Regions from separate parts of the Homo sapiens genome. Here region 2 is linked to region 1. Evidence: promoter capture Hi-C in 16 types of primary human blood cells and fetal thymus (Javierre and others, 2016). All regions are on one chromosome and are shown on one strand. Each heading gives the region's core, a stretch centred on a gene start or on the middle of the fragment in contact. The rest is flanking DNA. Distances are from core to core; before and after follow the strand shown. Region 1 holds the start of TMEM107 (transmembrane protein 107). Region 2 overlaps KDM6B (lysine demethylase 6B).

Region 1 (3,970 bases), core at 823-3,322:
AGGCGGGCGCCACCACACCTGGCTAACTTTTTAACTTTTTTTTTTTTTTTTTTTTCAGTAGAGATGAGGTTTCACCATGTTGGCCAGGCCGGTCTGAAACTCCTGACCTCAGGTGATCTCCCTGCCTCGGTCTCCCAAAGTGCTGGGATTACATGCCTGAGCCACCGCTCCCGGCCAATTTTTGGCCAAAGTTTCTAAAATAAAGTTTAAGGTTAAATGTCCGGCTGGGCGCGGTGGCTCATGCCTGTAATCCCAGCACTTTGCAAGGCCGAGGCTGGCGGATCACGAGGGCAGGAGATCGAGACCATCCTGGCTAACACAGTGAAACTCCGTCTCTCCTAAAAACACAAAAAATTAGCCGGGCATGGTGGCGAGCGCCTGTAGTCCCAGCTACTCAGGAGGCTGAGACGGGAGAATGGCGTGAACCCGGGAGGCCGAGCTTGCAGTGAGCCGAAATTGCGCCACTGCACTCCAGCCTGGGAGACAGAGCGAGACTCCGTCTCAGAAAAAGTAAATAAATAAAATAAAACAAAATAAATGCTCTATTTTAATAGAATTATAAATGCCCTATTTTTATAGAATTATAATTCTAGCGTTTCTTTTTTTTTTGGAGACGGAGTTGCGCTCTTGTTGCAGAGGCTGGAGTGCAATGGCGCGATCTCGGCTCACTGCAACCTCCACCTCCTGGGTTCAAGCGATTCCCATGCCTCAGCCTCCCGAATAGCTGGGATTACAGGCACGCGCCACCACGCCCGGCTAATTTTGTATTTTTAGTGGAGACAGGGTTTCAGCATGTTGGTCAGTCTGGTCTCGAGCTCCTGACCTCAGGTGATCCGCCCTCCTAGGCCTCCTAAAGCGCTGGGATTACAGGTGTGAGCCACAGTGCACAGCCCGCTTTTCCCTGTTTGTAGCGCCTATTATCTTACGGATTTATTTGTTTGCATGTCTGTTGTTGATCTCCCTGACTAGAATACCCTTACTAGGTAATCAATAAACATATACAAATATTTGTTGAAGGAATGAGAAATGCCTCTTGGGCTTGTAGTTTAGGCTGGCTAAAAGCACTGAGATGGGGAGTGGGGAGTAGGAAGAGATTGTTCTCCTGGGAGATGGGCCGGGAGGTTCCTTGAGGATGGGACTTGACTCAGCAATTAAAGAACTTTCAGATCTGCAGGGACCTGCGCTGAGGCCCAAAGGTCATGAGGTCGCCGATGATAAGAGCTTCTTGGACTGTAGCTGGGCAATGTCGGAGGCCCAGCACCTCCAAGGGACAAAGAAATCTGAGTTGAGTTTCCCTTCCAGCCGGCTCCAAGCCTCCCAGAGACGCAGGGACTGTCCCATTCCCTTCGTCCACTCCCACTCTTTCCAGCCACCTTGCTCTGCTCTTATCCCCATGCTAGTTTAAGGACGCTGGCCATTTTTTGCACTCTGCAAATCCCTCACCAAACTGAGCAAAGTAGTCTGAAAGAAATCAGTCTTCCTCAAGGAAGGTTCAGGCCTGGGGTCCTCAGACAACCAGGGGCTCCGTGACAATCTGTGACTGCAGAGCAGTCCAGGAACACCGGCCTCTCCAGGTTCGGGTCCCTTGTTTCTCAGGCCCAGCTTGGTGGGAAGCTAAAGGCATGCAGAGGAGGGGAAGGGGAGCGGGTCTGAGTCTTCGGCATGGCGGGGAACTCAGCCCGGCGTGGTGGTGGCAGCGGTCTCAAGTGATCCACAACTGGGCAGCGTAGCTGGGGCTGGGGGCCGCTCCCGGCGTGGGCAACAGCAGAAGCATTGGTGTCCCCAAGCTAGGCCAGGGTGGGTTTCCGTTCATCCGCCCTGCGTGGGCAGATCGGGCGCTGCGGGGCTGTGCCACCTCGCACCCTCTGAGGAACAAAGGGCCTGGCTGCGCGCGGGTACCCAGCCGTTAGGTTAGAAGCGCCTTCGGGTACCCCTGACCTTCGCTGGCCCTGAGAGACCCGCAGCAGCCGGAGAATGTACTGCTCGCGAGGATTTCCGAGAACGCGGCGCCGAGCCCGCGTACACGGTTACCAAGGCAACTGGGCGGTGCCTGAGCGGGCGGGAAGGAGGCGTTCGTCTAGATTTGTCGGCTTGCGGGGAGACTTCAGGAGTCGCTGTCTCTGAACTTCCAGCCTCAGAGACCGCCGCCCTTGTCCCCGAGGGCCATGGGCCGGGTCTCAGGGCTTGTGCCCTCTCGCTTCCTGACGCTCCTGGCGCATCTGGTGGTCGTCATCACCTTATTCTGGTCCCGGGTAAGACCCACGGCTGCACTCAATCCGTCCCCATTCCCATCTCTGAGTGGTCCTAGTCCTACCCTGCCCCCTCCCAGTGTCTTACCCTCTTGGGTTTTCTTGTTTCCCGCCGCCCCCAGGCCTGCCCTGCAGCCTGCCCCTTTTTCACTTCTCTTCCTGTGCCCTGCTCCCAGGACAGCAACATACAGGCCTGCCTGCCTCTCACGTTCACCCCCGAGGAGTATGACAAGCAGGACATTCAGTGAGCTCTTGGGACGGGGTGGCCAGAACGAAGAGGTGGTGGGAGTGGAGGGGTCTTAGAATAAGTCCAAAGGCCTGGGCCAGTCCACTTCCTCTCTGCAGGCTGGTGGCCGCGCTCTCTGTCACCCTGGGCCTCTTTGCAGTGGAGCTGGCCGGTTTCCTCTCAGGAGTCTCCATGTTCAACAGCACCCAGAGCCTCATCTGTATCCTTTCTGCCTGCCCACCTTTCCCACACGACCCACTTCTATCAGGACTCCCTTCAGCCACCTGACACAATAGTGTCTGCTGTAGCCAATCCTTCCAGTTCAAAGATCTTCAACGATGTGCTAAATCCTGCTGTTTACTAGGCACTTAAAATCCCAAAATGAGAGTAAAATACAGTTTTTGGCCAGGCATGTTGGCTCACGTCTGTAATCCCAGCACTGTGGGAGGCGCAGGCAGGAGGCAACATAGTGAGAACCCAAGTCTACAAAAATAATAGGAATAATAAAAACCCCACCGTTTCTTTTTACAATGAGGAGGAGGTAGATACAAATCTGTAATTCAGTGTGATAAGCACTGTGCTATAGAAGTGTGTGAAGATAGAAAGCACAGGCAGGGCGCGATGGCTCACGCATGTAATCCCAGCACTTTGGGAGGCCGAGGCAGGTGGACCACCTGAGGTCAGGAGTTCGAGACCGGCCTGACCAACATGGTGAAACCCCCGTCTCTACTAAAAATACAAAAATTAGTCGGGCGTGGCGGCGCACTCCTGTAATCCCAGCTACTCAGGAGACTGAGGAAGGAGAATTGCTTGAACCCGGGAGGCAGAGGTTGCAGTGAGCTGAGATCGTGCCACTGCACTCCAGCCAGGGCAACAGAGCAAGACTCTGTCAAAAAACAAACAAAAGATATAAAGCACAATGGGAACTCAGAAGAGGCAACGGAAGCGAGCACTGGGAACTCAGAAGAGGCAAAGGAGATGAGGCACATGGGTCAGAGAATTGTGGACCAGGAGGACCAGGACACTGGAGGCTGATTCCAGCGCATATTAAGTCGCTGTCAGCACTCCTTTGTGGCATAGCAGAAGGAGAGCCTACTCTTACCTCTCATCTGAAGGATCCAGGCTGGCCCACAGATAAGGGGTAGGGTAGCCTGAGGTCCGATCTGTGCAGTCACTTCTGGTCTCTCCTCACATGACTGTCCTAAAATTCAGAAGTCAGAGCTGCTGACTCTAGCCCTTGAAACATGGTGAGGGAGCAAGGGATGAACCTGAATGCAGATGCCAGCCCCACCACTGGCCTTTTCTGACCCATCACTGTCTGTCGATCCAAAGACTTTCCTTAATCTCGTGCCTTCCCAAGCCATTGGGGCTCACTGTAGTGCATCCGTGGCCCTGTCCTTCTTCATATTCGAGCGTTGGGAGTGCACTACGTATTGGTACATTTTTGTCTTCTGCAGGTGTGGTAGCATCCAATATTTGGGGATGAGGGAGGAAG
Region 2 (3,873 bases), core at 1-2,500, 340 kb after region 1:
GCTCCTCAGGGACCTATGTTTTCTGCTCCCTTAATCATAGTTCTCTGCCCTTATGGACCCAAACACTTGGGGTCCCAATCTAATCTCTATATTCCCTAGCCTTCCGGCCCCCATCCTTCCCCTTGCCTCAGAGACTCAGGCCTCTAGCCCCCAGTCTCCATGATGCAATGTTCCGCAAGCTTCTGTGGCTGCTGATGACACTGCCCCCAGGGAGGTGCTATTTGTGACCCACCAAGGCCTCCTTCCTAAGCCAGGGTAGTGGTCAGCTGTAGGTGGTAGAGGTCAGGCAGGCAAGGCCCTTCTGCTCGGGAAGGGAGCTTCAGGCTAGAACTCTCCAGGACAGGGAGGCTCATAACCTGGGAGCAGAGAGTGTGTATCTATAGTCTGTGGCATCTGTGTTCTGCGGTTGTGCTGGGGGGAGGGACTAGGAAAGGGCTAGTCGAGAGCAGAGTGGGCAGACTTTAGGACAGACCAAGAGGAGGAGTGAGGGGGAAGCCTAGGGGGTCAGAGGGTGTGTGAGGGGTGTCTGGACAACAGAGTGGGGGAGGGGCTAACAGCCATTTAAAGGGCCAGCCCCAGAGCTTTAATCCCTCACCAGCCCTGGCCCCAAGCCGGAGGCTGTAATTCATCTGTCCAACAGCTGGGGTGTGTGTGTTTGTGTGTGTGTGGGGGGGGGGGCTTCCTCCCCCTTCTATTCCCTCCCTCCTCCTCCCCGTCCCTGAGTCCCGGAGTCAAACAAAGAACTGTAGCAGGCTCTCCCCAACCCCCTCCCTCCTCCTCCTCCTCCTCCTCCACCTCCTCCTCCCCTCCCTCCCTCCCCACCAGCAGGCTCCCTCCTCCTCCCTTCCGGTCTCTTCCTTTAACTACCCGCCCCCCCAGCCCCCAGCACTAGTCTCTCTCCACCCACCCACCCCAACCTTTTACACACCCCTCAGCCTAGCCCTGTCCCCACTAGAGAAACTGTGGAGTCCCTCTGCAAAACGAAAGGCTCCAGAGATCAACACGGGAGGGGGCTGGGGTCTTGCTTCAAAATCAAGAACCATAATACAATTATTTTATTTTCAAGGCCCACGGAATAGTCTTAGCTATTTCTTGTCCAAGAGAAAAAAAAATAATCCTAAAGAAAGCAATACAAATCTGCCTAAAGCCTTCATCAAATAAAATGCACAAAGCAGTTGAAGCTAATCCCCAGCCCCCTAACCCCAATCTCCAAATTAACACAAACTATCCACTACCCCTTAACAAACTCCTACGGTTACCGCTGGTTTGGAGCAGACCCACAGCAATAATAATAAACTAGTAACTAACACCATTTAATAATAAAAGTATTTCATAACAACAAGCACTCATTCTGTGTTCATTCTGTGCCAGGCACTGTGCTAAGTGATTTGCATAAATTATCTCATTTTTTTCCTCCCAGCGGCCTTCAAGGTAGGTGTTGATATTTAAATGTTCAAGATTAACATACGAGGCTCAGAGAGGTTCTGACCTCTCCAAGTCCTAGTAGCCACTAAGTGACAGAGCTAGAATTAGAATCCAGGTCTGATCTGACAGCCCAAGCTCTAAGGTACATAAAAGCACAAACCGATTCATTCCAATACCATCACCAACCCTGGGACTTAATAGAGAAGAACAACCATAGCAATCAACTGAGTCCCCCTCCACCAAGTGAGAGGCTACAAACCGATTCACCCGCATACACACAATAAAGACCCTGACTTTTCAGCCTAATACTGTTTCTTGACCCTTTTCCTTTCATTGTTTGCAGATGGGGGTGTGCCATTATGGGGATTTCAGGGATAAGCTGGTGTGTAGTGAACCCCCCCCCATACTACACACAACTCTTCCGTCTTTCAACCACTCCCACTTCAAATCAATCTGGGGAAGGGGGCAATAGGACACTTGGCCATGCAGCAGGTGGGAAAGTAAAATGACGGCTAGGTAGCTTTTTCTATGGGGGCGGAGCCTTGGAGGGGAAGCTCTTCTGTGCCAATCTAGGGAAAAGTGACCCAAGGCTCCCTCAGCCCAGCAAAGGGGCAAAGTCTTTCAGCCACACCACACCCGTGCCCCTCCCCCTCACAAAACTCCAGGCCGGGGTTTCCCACCTGCAGGATGCTAAGACCACGGGAAGGGAGAGGGGAAAGAGATGGCACGGGACTGGAACTGGACTCGGGGCAGAGGTGGGAGGGAATAGAAGGGGGAGGAAGCCTCATTGCCTGGCAACCATCCCGGGGCACGTGCACTAGTGACATCATCCCAGGCCACCTCTAACACAGACCTTTGACCCCTACGGGGCGGAGTGGGTGTGCTGGCTAAGCTTCCTGGAAACACTGGAAACACCCTTAGGAATTCTGGGAACCCAAAAAGGAGACATAAGAAGAAACCCAGGCGTCCTTATCTCTTTTACCCCTAATACGACTCCAATCCCAGGGACTCAGGCCTCTTGCCTGTCTCCTCCTCTCCGCCTGCAGCCCTGACCTCCCAACCCACATTTCTGACGGGAGTCGGCCCGACACGCCCCTCGGAGATACTGTGCCTTCTCTCTCCTGGGCGAGATCTCGGTGGGGGCCGGCAGGCGGGGACGGGGGCACCGGGTCCCGCGGGGCTCCGTCTTCCATCTGCAGGATCCCCCGTGCCCCAGCCGGCCGCCAGCCGGAATCTGTCTGGGTCCCCAACTCTCCCGCCCCTCCCCGCGCTGTTCCAGGGCGGAGTCTGTGGAGTTGAAACCAGGACACGGCGAGAGGAAGAGTTATATAACCGGGAGAAGCGAAGAAGGACGAGTGGAGACAGGGACAGACAGCCCGAAAGGAGCCGAGGGAGGTGCAAAGAACGCCGGGGCGAACGAGGAGGAAACGTTAGGAATGGGAAGGGTTTTGGTGCACATCAAAGAGCAGGAATTCACGCGAAGAAGGGGCGTGATGGCCCAGAAGAATCACCTGGGCCGTCCGGGGCTTCCCCGCAGTGCCCTCCTCCGCCACCAACAGCAGCTGGGCCCGGGCGGGAGAAGCCTTGGGAAGGGGCGCTGGTACCCGCTCGCTTTCTCTTGGGAAAGCAACTTAAGCCAGAGCCCGGGAAGGCAGCGGCCGAGCAGATGGGGCCGGAAACCACAGCTCCGCCCAGCCCACCTGGGAGTGTGGGGCGCCAGCTGGGGGGAGGTGGGGAACAGGTAGTCGGCCCTCCCGAGCCAGGCTGGGCATTATGGTCGCGACCGGCGAAACGGTGCAGACCGACCGAGACGTGTGGGTCCCCAGGGGCTGAAGAGCGCAGCCTCAGGCGGCTTTACACAGACTCCACGAGGGGAGGGGGGCGCCCGGCTCGCCGCGCAGGCGCAAGGGGGTGCTCGGGCGCGTGCGGCGCAGGGCGGGGGGTGGGCGCGAGCGTGTGGGAGTGCACGTGCGGGTCCCAGGCAGCTGCTGCCTCCCAGCCTCCGCCGCTGCCCCTCCCCTCTCCCTTTCCTGTCGCTATCATCCCCCTTCCCCATTGGCTGCCAGGGCCCTGACGTCAGGGCCGACCGCTGGAGCGGATTGGGCGGACGGGAGAGTTCGGGAATCCGGCTCCCAAGTCTCGCCCTCCAGTTACTCTGGCAACAGGACAAGCAACCCAGGGGAGGGAAGGGGAGCCGAGGTCAACGCTGCGCCTCGGTCCCTAACCCCCTCCGGACAACCACCGAGTCCCCTTCGGTCGCGGCGCAGCTCGCTACCTCCCCGCCTTCCTCCCAGGGCTCTTCCTGTCCCGGGAACCAGGCGTCCTGCCCTCGGCCTTCCCCACAGTCTTCAGGCCCTCCGCTGTCTCTAACCCCCACCAGTGTCACAACATAAGCTGCAGCAAACAGGAAGCGAATCTACGTCGCTTAGCAACCACCCCGCGTGCCCC

Evidence for each region. Contacts are between HindIII fragments. The CHiCAGO score rates a contact against its expected background, and 5 or more counts as called.
Region 2: a contact is called between a fragment that was not itself captured here and the fragment with the promoter of TMEM107 in region 1, in 1 of 17 cell types (erythroblasts). The highest score is 5.5, in erythroblasts.

The regions. Positions count from the first base shown.
Region 1 is chr17:8,174,482-8,178,451 of GRCh38, reverse strand. TMEM107 (transmembrane protein 107) reads left to right here and starts at 2,072. Exons shown (of 5, transcript NM_183065.4): 1 at 2,072-2,252; 2 at 2,426-2,493; 3 at 2,595-2,695; 4 at 3,836-3,932. The coding sequence starts at 2,166. LOC105371520 (a long non-coding RNA gene) reads right to left here. Exons shown (of 4, transcript NR_188261.1): 2 at 3,578-3,676. RefSeq lists enhancers at 1,775-1,894, 1,310-1,921, 2,075-2,124, 2,195-2,284, 2,445-2,494 and 3 more. The HindIII fragment of the contact is 13,203 bases long and covers 1-3,970 here.
Region 2 is chr17:7,835,243-7,839,115 of GRCh38, reverse strand. All of the region lies in intron 1 of KDM6B (lysine demethylase 6B), which reads right to left. LOC124904106 (translation initiation factor IF-2) reads left to right here. Exons shown (of 4, transcript XM_047437265.1): 4 at 2,472-3,708. The coding sequence ends at 3,499. Among named protein-coding and RNA genes, the nearest start is that of KDM6B, 3.0 kb to the right of the region's middle. RefSeq lists silencers at 1,328-1,477, 3,018-3,077, 3,098-3,517 and an enhancer at 2,348-2,397. The HindIII fragment of the contact is 2,138 bases long and covers 182-2,319 here.